4 separate regions of the Homo sapiens genome follow, and all the other regions are linked to region 4. The links are contacts of gene promoters, found by promoter capture Hi-C in blood cells and fetal thymus (Javierre and others, 2016). All regions are on one chromosome and are shown on one strand. Each heading gives the region's core, a stretch centred on a gene start or on the middle of the fragment in contact. The rest is flanking DNA. Distances are from core to core; before and after follow the strand shown.

Evidence for each region. Contacts are between HindIII fragments. The CHiCAGO score rates a contact against its expected background, and 5 or more counts as called.
Region 1: a fragment that was not itself captured here is called in contact with the fragment with the promoter of PIGA in region 4 in 1 of 17 cell types (total B cells); the score reaches 6.3 in total B cells.
Region 2: a fragment that was not itself captured here is called in contact with the fragment with the promoter of PIGA in region 4 in 1 of 17 cell types (naive CD8 T cells); the score reaches 5.3 in naive CD8 T cells.
Region 3: a contact is called between a fragment that was not itself captured here and the fragment with the promoter of PIGA in region 4, in 7 of 17 cell types (non-activated CD4 T cells, naive CD4 T cells, activated CD4 T cells and 4 more). The highest score is 19.6, in non-activated CD4 T cells.

What each region holds. Positions count from the first base shown.
Region 1 is chrX:17,733,961-17,737,111 of GRCh38, forward strand. It overlaps NHS (NHS actin remodeling regulator), which reads left to right. Exons shown (of 9, transcript NM_001291867.2): 9 at 1-2,034. Among named protein-coding and RNA genes, the nearest start is that of SCML1, 2.0 kb to the right of the region's middle. The HindIII fragment of the contact is 2,833 bases long and covers 230-3,062 here.
Region 2 is chrX:12,949,777-12,952,829 of GRCh38, forward strand. No RefSeq gene overlaps it. Among named protein-coding and RNA genes, the nearest start is that of TLR8-AS1, 8.0 kb to the left of the region's middle. RefSeq lists cis regulatory regions at 394-806, 1,076-1,505 and enhancers at 434-728, 1,134-1,428, 1,359-1,588. The HindIII fragment of the contact is 379 bases long and covers 1,092-1,470 here.
Region 3 is chrX:12,791,687-12,794,457 of GRCh38, forward strand. The region is part of intron 1 of PRPS2 (phosphoribosyl pyrophosphate synthetase 2); the gene reads left to right. Among named protein-coding and RNA genes, the nearest start is that of PRPS2, 1.7 kb to the left of the region's middle. RefSeq lists a silencer at 1-431. The HindIII fragment of the contact is 1,938 bases long and covers 536-2,473 here.
Region 4 is chrX:15,334,006-15,337,003 of GRCh38, forward strand. PIGA (phosphatidylinositol glycan anchor biosynthesis class A) reads right to left here and starts at 1,518. Exons shown (of 6, transcript NM_002641.4): 1 at 1,496-1,518. RefSeq lists enhancers at 1,270-1,319, 1,370-1,449. The HindIII fragment of the contact is 3,001 bases long and covers 1-2,914 here.

The sequences.
Region 1 (3,151 bases), core at 396-2,895, 2.4 Mb after region 4:
TTAAAATCTGCAAATGGTTTTTACACCTCTGATTTTAACATGAACTTATACTAATGTTTGGAATCTTATGTCAGAAATATAAGCAGCTATGTACTTAGAATAGGTTTTGAATGGGAGAGGTAGAACAGAGAGAGAATTAAGAAGGGATCTGACTTATAAAAGACTAGAATGTGATTAGAGTGATAGAACATACCAATGTTACCAAGAAATTGACAAGCTGCTGGCTTTAAGCTTATGCAAGTGGTAGTTGGGAAAGTAGGAGGTGTGGAAGAGGGTTTGCATTTTGGATTAATTCATGCAAAATGAAGGAGGAAGCCTGGTCTAAGAAGATACTGTCTTTCAATAGAAATGATTTCTAAACTGCTACAGATTAAGAATAGATAATCTGATTGCTGTTGTTTTGTTTGTTTGGAAAGAAAAAAAATGTCTGGCTTCTTCTACTATTTGTTTTCACTACCAAACTGTGTTACTAAATTTCTTGTCATCCTTGTATGTAAAATGGGTGCTGGGGGTGGAGGGGTATAAGAGGAGGGAGAGTCAGAGAGAGTGTGTATGGGTGTGTGTGAGTGTGAGTGTGTGTGTACGCACACACACTGGGGATAGATAAGCTACCTGGTAAAGGGTTTGAACATTTACAAAATGTCACACTTTTTCTTAAAAGAAAAATATTTTGGGGTTTGAATAAAATGGACCACCATTTCTCATTGGAACCCATTAATTAAGAAAACCAGCATGGTTTGACACCACATGGGAACATGAATAAATCTGTCTCATGATTTGAAAAGTACACCTTGCAAAGTTTTAAAAATAAAGTTTTTAGGCAAATGCGATAAGAAACCGTCATTTCCAGTCACAGTAGGCGATCTTTCGTAATTTCATAAAAGCAGTTCGTTTGCAGTATGGCTTTTGTGTAGTTAGGGGTTTTTTAAGTGTGAAGAAAGGTATGTGGGCTTTAAAAGTGATTCTAAATCTTGAATAGAAAACACATGAATTGGCTTTAATAAAAATGTCACCTTTTTATTATTGACATTAAGTAATGGTACCATATATTTTTTAAAATACATATTGACTTGAATTGTGAGGCAATAAGATACCTTCTATATGTAATGATCACAGAACTAACCCTTATAATATAGTTTTACTTATTTTGTTTACTCTAAAAATCTATAGCAGAGTTTCTCTATTTTATATTTCATAGATTTAAAAAACCCAAATAAAGATGGATTTAAAATTCACTGTGGAAAAGAGTATTGAGTTACAAACTGAGAAGAAAAAGCAGGAAGTTCCCTAATAATCTGGAATATTCTACATGGCTTGATTACATAGCAAACAAGACCAAGATTTAGGGCTGTCTTTAACATCACTGCCGTCTTGAAGCAGGGTACACACGTTAGGTATTGTGAAGAACATCAATCCGAACTTTTCTTCTGTTGTTTGCACTGATGCGATTTTTTGTTCTTTTATGTTTATACAACGTATCTATGTTGTGTAGGGGAAATTTTTTCATTTTTTAAAAATTCTACTTTGGTTTTGTTGTTGTTTTGATTTGTTTTTGGCTAAGTAGAGGACATGGACTAGTTGTAGCAAACAGAACATGCTGTTTGCTCTTGCCAAAGGTCAGTGAGTGAGTGCATTTGCTGCAGTGGTGGCACGTAGAGAACTAGATGGTAATAAAGATTTAAAACTATGAAGAAGGTTACAGTGTAACTATTTTGGTACTAGAACCAGTTCATGCTGGCCGAAACGACAATGGTTTATGGACTTGCATCCATTTTGTATTTTTGTAATATTTGTAAATATGAACTTTTTAAATTGCTGCAAAGATGGTTTCTTTTGTAAGATGTTTTCAACGTTTACATTCAATCCAAGCCTTTGTATATTTTAGAGCTGTGCAACACTTTAAGTCTTGTATTTATTTTTAGTAAAAATGGTGACAGTTTCATTGTGAACCCCTCTCAAAAAAAATGTATCAGAAAAGTTTGATTACCTAGAAAGTGTGTATAGAAACTGCAAATAAACGTGACTGCAATTAAACAACCGGTTTCTCTCTTCACTGTTACGTAATTGATTTCTTGGGGCTTCGCAACAGTGTTTTACAGGCAACAGGACATAAGGGCAGGGTCTGTTATGGCAAAAGTAGGAGCAAAAAGAACATAGACCAGCCTGTCCAACATGGTGAAACCCGTCTCTACTAAAAATACAAAAATTAGCTGGGCATGGTGGCAGACGCCTGTAATCCCAGCTACTCTGGAGGCTGAGGCAGGAGAATCGCTTGAACCCAGGAGGCAGAGGTTGCAGTGAGCCGAGATCACACCGCTACACTCCAGCCTGGGCAACAAGAGCAAAACTCCGTCTCAAACAAAAACAAAAACAAAAAAAAAACATATACTATATCTATAATGGGCTTTAATCTAGCTTCGTATTTGAGAGGAAAAATGATACATTTCCAACGTCCAGTATACTTTCTTTGTAGCTCCTCTCTGGGCCAAGAAAAGATGTATAGCTTTACTTTGAAATATCTGCCTGCTTTGCTTCTGATAATTACTCAGACTGTGTCTCCTTCCCAAGATGAGCAGCCTCGATATAAGTATGTAAGACTATATGCCACTAGATGATGTCACATAGCCTTTATTACAATAGCAAAATTCTATGCCAGGTACTGTTCTAAGTGCTTTGCATACATTAACTCATGTAGTCCCCATATTATACCCATTTTACAGATGGGGAAACCGAAGCACAAAGCGGTTACTTGGCTTGCCTAAGGCCATAGGAGGACTGTGTTGGAGCTGGGGGTCCAATCCAGTAAATCTGCCTTCAAGGTCTGCGTTAGTTCCCCAGTCCAACTTGTGGGTGCTGGAGACTGGAAATATCTTGCCCGCCCCCCACCCTGGCCCCCCTCGCCCTTCCTACCAGACCTGGCTCAGGGCAACTGCTAAGGCCCCGCCCCTCTCCTCATTCCAAGTCAATCACTGGCGTGCGTCCAGGAAACCCAGTTTACGACGACGTCTCTGGTGCGTCACAGAGCGCGGGGGAGGGGCGGGATCACATTAAAAAAAAAAAAAAGCTTCGGACACCCCAACAACGAAGGGGGGACACCACGTCCCTAACTACAACGCCACTAGAAGGGTTGCGCATGCGCGCCAGCCTCCTG
Region 2 (3,053 bases), core at 31-2,530, 2.4 Mb before region 4:
AATGAATGGGAGCTGACATTAACAATAGTACTGCACCCCAGCACCACCAGGAATCACGATGCTGAGCTGTCACTGTTGCAGAACAATTAAAAGCATCTCCTGCTAGTATCCTGAGCTACCTACCCCCTTCCTGCAGGAAAGACTTCCCGTCTTCCCACTGGCTCACAGAAGTGGCCTTTTCCTCCGGAAACCAGCGTGCATCTGTTAGCATCTTTTGTCTTTTGTGGGAAAGGGAGGATTCTGGCTCCAGACTGAAGAGGGACAGGCATGGTGTGTGGGTTCACAGAGCCCCAGACTCCAGACTCTGATGCCAGCATCTTTGTCTCAGCAAAGGTCATAATTGGATTTGGATGTTTAAGGCAGTCACTGATTTACTGTTCTCATTTTTCAAGTGTGAGAAATACTAACTCTGTGCTTTGCTTACTTCTAAAGGAACAAAGGCAGTATGAGCAGCCTTTAAATACTGCCACATAATACACTGAGAGCAGACATGACCACGTGCTACAAAGAGTCAGGGCTACGTAGGAAAGTTCACATCGGCGTGGGAAGTGAAAGTAAGCCACGTCACCGTTTCTGTCACGTGACAGCTGTGGGGTGTGGAGCAACTCACTGAGCCTCTTTCCTGGTGTGTAAGATGGGGATAATGATAGCTCCCATTCACTGACCGCTTCCAAAGTGCCTGACCCTGTTCTAAGCCTTCACTGTCATCCTGATTTTATAGTTAGACAGTTTGTCAGTGTCAGAAGCAGAATTGGCTACATAGTTTGCAAGTCCAGTGCCCTGGTTCAAAAATGATTAAGAATTTCAAGATGGTGGTAGCAGAGCAAAAAACCAAGCCCGGAGCCCTCCTTAGTGTGGCTCTTATGTGACTGCACAGGCTGCACACCCTGGGCAGAATTAGTATACAAATCCTGCAGCCTGACTCCAGAACCTTCCATCTTAACATCTATGCCACAAGAGCTGTCTCCTAAGGTGGCCGTGAGGTTGGAAATGAGACTAAGGCATTCCTGGCAGAGGGCACAGTGTGAATGATCTGGAAATACAGGCGTGGACAGGAAGATGAGGAAGGAATGATAAACTCTCATGGCTAAAGCTTTGGTGAGCTGAAGGAAACAGAAGTGTGCTGGTAGGCAGTACTGGCTGCAAACTGTGCCCTCCCTGAAGGCCAACTATAAAGTGCAAGGCCCTTGTACTTTATAGGCGACTGGTGTTGAGGATCGCTGGAAGGTTTAGAAGCAGGGGGTAGCATGGACGCAGGCAGAGAACTGCCCCTAGGGGGAAGTGTGGAGCAGAGCAGACTGGGGCCTGGGCACCCGCTAGAGGAGGCCGTTACAACCACACTCTAGGGATCTCATAGTGAGAGGCTCAGGGAGTAGAGGAAGGAAACAGGGAAAACTGAAGGTCTTCAAGGTAAGTAGAAATTATAGCTTTGGAATACGATCTGGAAACAGGAAACTGGGGGAAAGGAAAAGCTTCTGATGCCTGCTGGCCTGGCCTTCTGTTTGAGCGCCATCAGGCCCGTATGGAGTATCATGATGTACACAGACTGCCTTTGCACCCATAGAAAACAGGGTACATCTCTTCAGGAAGTAGAAACTCTTTGAGCAAAAGAAATCGATTTAACTTCCTAAAAACAACAGCTGTTACTGGCTATAAACTCAGTCATTTCTCAATTTGGGTTTTTCCCCCAAAATATTCCCTTCCAATTTTCAGAGGCATAATCAGTTCTGTGATTATGTTGCTTGCACATAATTAGATCACACAGTAATAATAATAACTGTAAACTCTGGAGGAAACAGAGTGCAATTAAAACCAGAAAGAAAAAAATCTCCCAAACCTCTCCCAGATTCTTCTCTCAAACTTGGGAGTGGGGCACCTCAAGCCCAGTGAAGGAATCAACATATTTTACCCCAAAATATATTTCTTTGACATATTTTGAGATGGCTGTTCACAGGGCCCGCAAACAGAAGCAGCCCTACAAAACTGTCTCATGTGGCGAAGATTTGCATCTGCAGAGAAAAACTACGTTGATACAGCCAGGCTTTCTCTGAGGCTCTCTCTTGTCCATATCTAGGAAAAACTGAGAGTCTGATACCTTTAAAGGTCTGAAAGAAACATTTACTATCTATTCTGTCTGAGAGCGGCTACCTCTGAGATTTCTCCTATGTAACAAGAACGCCTTTGCCAGCCAGGCCTCCTCTTCTCCCCATGCCATAATCTCTTTGCCAAGATCCAAGCCTCCAGTCTTTCTGTAACCTCAAGGCTTCTGTACCCCACTGCGGGGATTGGTAATCACTCTATGGTTCTCCTCCATGTGCACAATAAATTTGTATGCTTTTTCTCCAATTAATCTGCCTTTTAATTTATTATTATTATAAATTTTTTTTGAGACGGAGTCTTGCTCTGTTGCCCAGGCTGGAGTGCAGTGGTGTGATCTCAGCTCACTGCAACCTCCGCCTCCCAGGTTCAAGCAATTCTCCTGCCTCAGCCTCCCGAGTAGCTGGGATTACAGGTGCACGCCACCAAGCCTGGCTAATTTTTGTATTTTTAGTAGAGACAGGGTTTCACCATGTTGGCCAGGCTGGTCTCAAACTCCTGACCTTGTGATCCGCCTGCCTTGGCCTCCCAAAGTGCTGGGATTACAGGCGTGAGCCACCATGCCCGGCCTATTATATATATTTTAATGCTCTCTCTCAGCAGAGTCAAGAGGATTAGTTATCGGTGTGTTGGACATACTGAGTATAGGGGGTCTGTGGGATATGTAAGAAGAAATGACTACTGGGCTGTTGCATATGTGGTTCTTCATCTCATTTTGTTTTAGAGCCAGAGTCTCACTCTGTCACTTAGACTGGAGTTCAGTGGCGAGGCTTTTTTTTTTTTAGACAGGGTCTTAACTCTGTTGTTTAGGCTGGAGTGCAGTGGCACAATCATAGCTCACTGTAACCTTGAACTCCTGGGCTCAAGCAACCCTCCCACTTCAGCCTCCTGAGTAGCTGAGATGACAGGCACGTACCACCACTCCTGAATTTTTTAAAAAATGTTTTAGGCATGTA
Region 3 (2,771 bases), core at 255-2,754, 2.5 Mb before region 4:
GCCGGCGCCTGCCCGGGCCACCTCCGCGGACGCCGCGCTCCCCCTTCCGGGGCGGGACGGTGGCAACGCGGCCTCCGCGCCCCCGCGCCCGCGCCTGCGAAGAAACCGAGGCGGGGCGCCGCGCGTCCCGATGCGCGCCTCGGCTGTGCCCCCGGTTGCAGGGCCTCCGGTCCTGGGACCGCGGCGACCCGGCGGTCCCGAGCCGCTCCCGGCCTCCCAGCGGTGCCGCCCGGCCTGGCGTCCCCAGCCCGGAAGGGAGACGTCTGGGCGGTCACAGACCGTCGGGGAGAGAGTGGGCGCAGCGGGCGGGAACCGCATCGGGTCAGCGCGCGGTGGAGAGACGTCCTGGGTTGGCTGGTCCCAGTTTCCGCGTCCCTACAAAGCTGAACCTCAGACCAGTGCGTGCGACTAAAGGTTTCCCCCCGTCCCCAACTCTGGTTGCACGCTGGGTTTACCTGGGGACGGTCCGAACGCTGCTTCCCCCGACCTGCCCCCAAGGGTTTGATCCAACGGGCGGAGGATCAGCGATTTTACAAGCTTCCCTGGCTTCTCCTGAGCAGCCAGGGCGCAGACCACTGCGTTATCCAGAGGGTGCAGTTGTGCCAAGGTTTGAAAGACTGTGAGAACCCCAGGACGCACGTGCTGGGCTCCCCTCTGCTCCCACTACTCTTGCTGCTTTAAAGATGATGGACTTTCAGCTTCCTTCTTGTTCTAGGACTCTGCTGTGTCCAGCAACAACGCCGTGATTCGACTGTAACTTTCACCCATTTCTCAAGTCCAGGAGAGCCTCAGGTGGTGGCCATCCTCGGAAGCTGACCTGGGGGGCTCCTTTGTCTATCTGCCTGAGTCCACACAGCTCCTTGACTCATTTCAAATTGGTCTCATTTTTCCCCCTTCTTCCTCCAATGTCTAGTACCGTTAACTGTCCACAGTTACTGATAATTTTTATATCTTTGGCAAAGGTTCAATTTTACCAACATTTTCTAGAAATGGTGTTGGAACAGTTGGACACCCATATGCCAAAAAATATGAACTTCCATCCATACTTTTCACCATTTGTAAAAATTAACTTTGAAGTGGATCATAGACCTAATTGTAAAATCTAGAACTATAAAATTTCTAGCAGAAAATCTTGACTTGGGGTTAGGCAAAAATTTCTTAAGGAGGAGTTATGTTAATACTGATGGGGAAGATGCTATATTTTGGCAAGTCAGCTTTTTAGGATATGTGAATCTTACGTGACTTCTTCCAGGTGGCAAATTCCAGTTATGGCTCCGATGATAATATAAGCGAAGAAACATTGTGAATGAGTGGCAGGTGGACTTTGGCTAAAGAATTCCACTCTGCAGTGTTTAATGCAGAAGTCTGAGAGGATGGTCTAGGGCTCTGGAGAAGGATAGAGCTAGGTTTGAGTGTTGCAGTATTTTGCCAGTCTTGTTCAAGTTTCAGTCGCTGTAAGAACACGAGAAGAAGAATAGTTTTTGTTCAGAAGGTGTCGTCATATAAGTAAAGGAGAAATTTGTTGATGAAGTAAATTTTGAAAGCAAATATGTTGCCCTTCCAGGTACTCAGTGCAGCATGATCTTTTGCTAAGGAGCATGGTTAATCTAGATCAGTTCACTGCTAAGTCAGTGTTGAGTTTCTCCTAAAAATACCACATGTGCCACTGGGCAAAACTCACTCAGACACTGAAGTATGATTGTTTATACATTTGGTTCAAATATAAAGCAGACTCACTTTTATTTTGTTTTTGGCATTTTATAACCATCACTTGATAATTAGAAATCGTGGGACCTCAAAAACCACTCAGCATGAAGTTTGGGAATTGCCTATATAGCTACATTTTATGTTTTTAATGTATAGAGTATAAAAGGTTCACTGCCTGACTTTTCTCTTTTCCATGAACTGTACAAGTACAGAGCTTAATTTTTATAAACAGCCCTCTCTGGACCAGTTACTGTGCTAGGAATCCAGCTTTTAGCTGTGTAATCGTAGAGAGGAAAAACTGAAGGGCAAAATGAAGACAAAATTGATTCAGTTCATGTAAGGGCCCCTTCTTGAATCTGTCACTGAACTAGGATCAGAAATCTGGTTTGCTGTCTCCTGGCCATCAATCCTCCCATTTTGCGTTTTTTATATGCTACTTTACTGAACATAGAGCCTTCCAATTTTACCTTCTTATCCCTAAATCATTTCAGATATGCAGGGAGAGGTCCGCTCCAGCTTCACTATAGACCATGGAAATTCCATGATGACATCTTAGGACAGCAGGTGTCTAGATGTCTCTGTTGTAACATTTTACTATGGTCAGTTAACCTGCTGGCAGAATCTTTAGCTATACTGTGAGACAAGGTTATGCAAAGTTATACAAGGTTATCGGTTACCATGTAATAAATAAAGAGCTTAATGGCTTAAAACAGTAATTGTTGATTTGGCTTACAAATCTGCAATTTGGGAAGGGCTCAGTGAAGAAAGCTTGTTTTTGCCGCGTATGGTCACAGCTGAGGCTGGTCACAGCTGAGGCGGCTAACTGGGGCTGGAGGGTTCTTGAAGATGGCTCACATGACTGAAGTTGTTACTAGCTTTTGCCTGGGAGCTTGGTTAGGAACCTCAGCTCCTCTTCTTGTAGGCCTCTCCATGGGGCTGCTTGAGCTTCCTTACAGCATGGAAGCTGGGTTCTAAGAGCACATGTTCCAAAAGACAGGACATTGAAGCCACCAGTCCATTAAGGACTGGGCTTGCAAGTTGGTGTATCATAATTTCTGTCATAT
Region 4 (2,998 bases), core at 268-2,767:
AGTCAAAATCTTCCTCAGCTTTACAAATGAGATTTCCAAGGCTCCAGAAAACAAACAACTATACAATGAGAAGCCATCCTAAAGCTCTGAGTTTCCGGTTTCACCTGCAAACTCAGAAAATGCCAATTAACTGTATGTGCAAAGGCTTAACTGTCTAGTCTCTCCAACAAATTCATCTACTTTTTTTTTTTTTTTTTTTTTTTGAGACGGAGTCTCACTCTGTTGCCCAGGCTAGTGTGCAGTGGAGCGATCTCGTCTCACTGCAGCCTCTGCCTCCCGAGTTCAAGCGATTCTCCCACTTCAGCCTCCTGAATAGCTGGAATTACAGGCGCACACCACAAGCCCAGCTAATTTTTGTATTTTTAGTAGAGACGGGGTTTCATCATGTTGGCCAGGCTGGTCTCGAACCCCTGACCTCAGGTGATCCACCAGCCTCGGCCTCCCAAAGTGCTGGGATTACAGGTGTGAGCCACCGTGCCCGGCCTCATCTACATTTTAAATATACTCTCGGAAAGACCCCAGAAGTGTTTGTTGACTGAGTTTACTAATTAAGATTCAATATTACCAAATATTGAAATTCCCCAAGTTTGTACTTTTAGGTGGCTTAACTAACATTTTCTTACTGTGGTCACCTAAACCCGAACTTCCAGTTCTACCAGTTTTAAAAGATGAACGATAGCAAAAACAGTGAGTAATGAACCAAATGATATCATTTAAAATGTTGTCATTAGCCTGCAACGTTCTGTGAGGAGTCTGCCCACTTCCGCCAGGTTTTCAGTCCAAACATCTTTGACATAAAAGTTCATTATGCTGCACAATCGCAGAATCTTAGCTCTTAAAGCCGAAATGAGGCTTGGAGCTCTAGTGAATACCTCTCTCGTTTTACAAATGAGAACCCAGACAAGTTGAGTGATTTGTCCAAGGTTCCCACCCAGCCACTTAAAGTGGCAAAGACATTACCGTAAAATTCTCGACCACGACCAACGAGCCCTGGGCAATCATTAGCAGTAGAGGTTCCTGAAGAACCTTAGGGAGACCTGGCAGGAGTTGTGGGTCAAGAGAATGGTACTTCCACCGACAATTCCTGGGCACTGTCTGAGCTTCATTCCCTGATTCCCTGAGAGGTCGCTGGGGAAACGCTCGGGCCAAGGAGGGGATACCCCTGCTCAGACAGCGACCCCGCTGGGTTCATGGCGGGGATGGCCAGGCCCAAAGAGAGAAAGAAAACAACCAAAGAGTGGACGTTGGTCTCAGGCCCGGGGTTCCGGAGACCCCAGTCCCTCGACCCACCCGCCTGAGCCAAGGAACCCAGCGCGTCCGCCCTAAACGCACCCTCAGCCCCAACCTACTCTGGAGACCCTCCGACCCAACTTCCGGGCTTCGAACCGGGTCGGTTTCACCCCCTCCACCACCCGCCACGATCCCACGCGCGCAGAACAGCCCCATCCGAAAGCGGCCCAGAGCGCTGGAGAGGGGCGGCGCGACGCGCACTCACCGGTGAGTTCCATGGCCGCCAGTGTCCGGACCTCCCGCGGCTGCAGCCGGAGTCCCTCCCTGCTGTTCCGCAGCACCAATCTAGGGCGTCCGCGCCCAAGGGCCGCGCCCCCGAGGCAGCCAATCACAAAGAGGCGCTGAGGTCACGTCCGAGAGAGACGCTCTGTCGTCCCCACCCTTAAGCGCGAGATGTAACGTCAGCGCGCGCCTGCGCCCGTCTCCTAGAAGCGGCCGACGGTAGGGTGGGTGCTCACCCTGGTTTCCTGGTTACAGCGTCTCTATTCCGGACGCCAGTTCTCTGCGCGCTTGCTTCTGATTGGAGAGACTTTTTGTTTGTAATCAGCTGTGCCACGGCAAAACCGTGCCGGTTCTTACCGCTCTGGGACGTTTGCCAGATAAATAAATAAAAATACACAAAAAGTCAAAACAGATGAAACTATGAAGTTTTAATTTCAGATAAAGCACAAATGATGTTTAATACAAGCATGTACCAAATATTGGGGACTTCACTACACATTCGTTTTTTATCGGACATGTAAATTTAACTAGACATCCTGTTATTTATATGGCAATTCTACACTCTGAGGGAAACATACGAGGTCTGATCTGAAATATCAACTCCCACTCGACTGGTTCAACTAGTTACGATGGTGCTTGACTAGGAAGCTAAAGAATCAGTGAGAGTGGTATGACGGTCATCCATGCGTCACAGCTGGTACTTGGAATCCCCCATCCCTGCCATACGTGCGTTTTCGAGAAGAAATTCCTTTCTGAGTACCATCACAGCCACCGTTACTGGCACCCATTTTATTAAGCCTAGTGTAAGCCTATTCATCCCTGAAAATGTCTGCTCCTTTCTGATGCTTTCCCCAAGCCTCCAGAGAATGAAATACTCTCACTTTTTAATTTTAATAGTACTTTGGCCACATGCTGGCCAAAGTATAACATTTATCAGATGATATTCAAGTTGTTTGCCTGATTGCATTCTCCCTCCTCACCCTGATCCTTGATTACTTGTCTCTTGAGATCTCACATGGACTTCTTTCTGAAAACGGAAATTGTATTTGCTTGTTAAATGTCTGCCTTCCCTGCCAGATAGTAAACTGAGGCAGGATCTGTTCTTGGTAATGGATGTTGAGGAAGTTTTAGTTTAATACATGAATTTCTTTACCCAATGTCAGCACACTCCCTGACACATATTAGATGCTCACAATAAAATGTATTGACAGTATTTCGTGGAGTGTACCTTATACAAATTACAGTGCAATAACATCATTGAAAGAGCATTTTAGTTGTGAGATTTGAAGCGAATTAATGAGTTGATGAGTAAGACTAGAGTAGCAATCGATACTTTGCCCTGTGTTAATATTGATGAAGCATCGGAGAATTACAGTGATGAAGACTCAAGGACACTTAATTAAGCTTTATAATTTGTAGTTGGTTTCACAGATAACAGCGACATTACCAGATAGGTACAGCATTTGGCCTCCTTTCCATTTTTGTA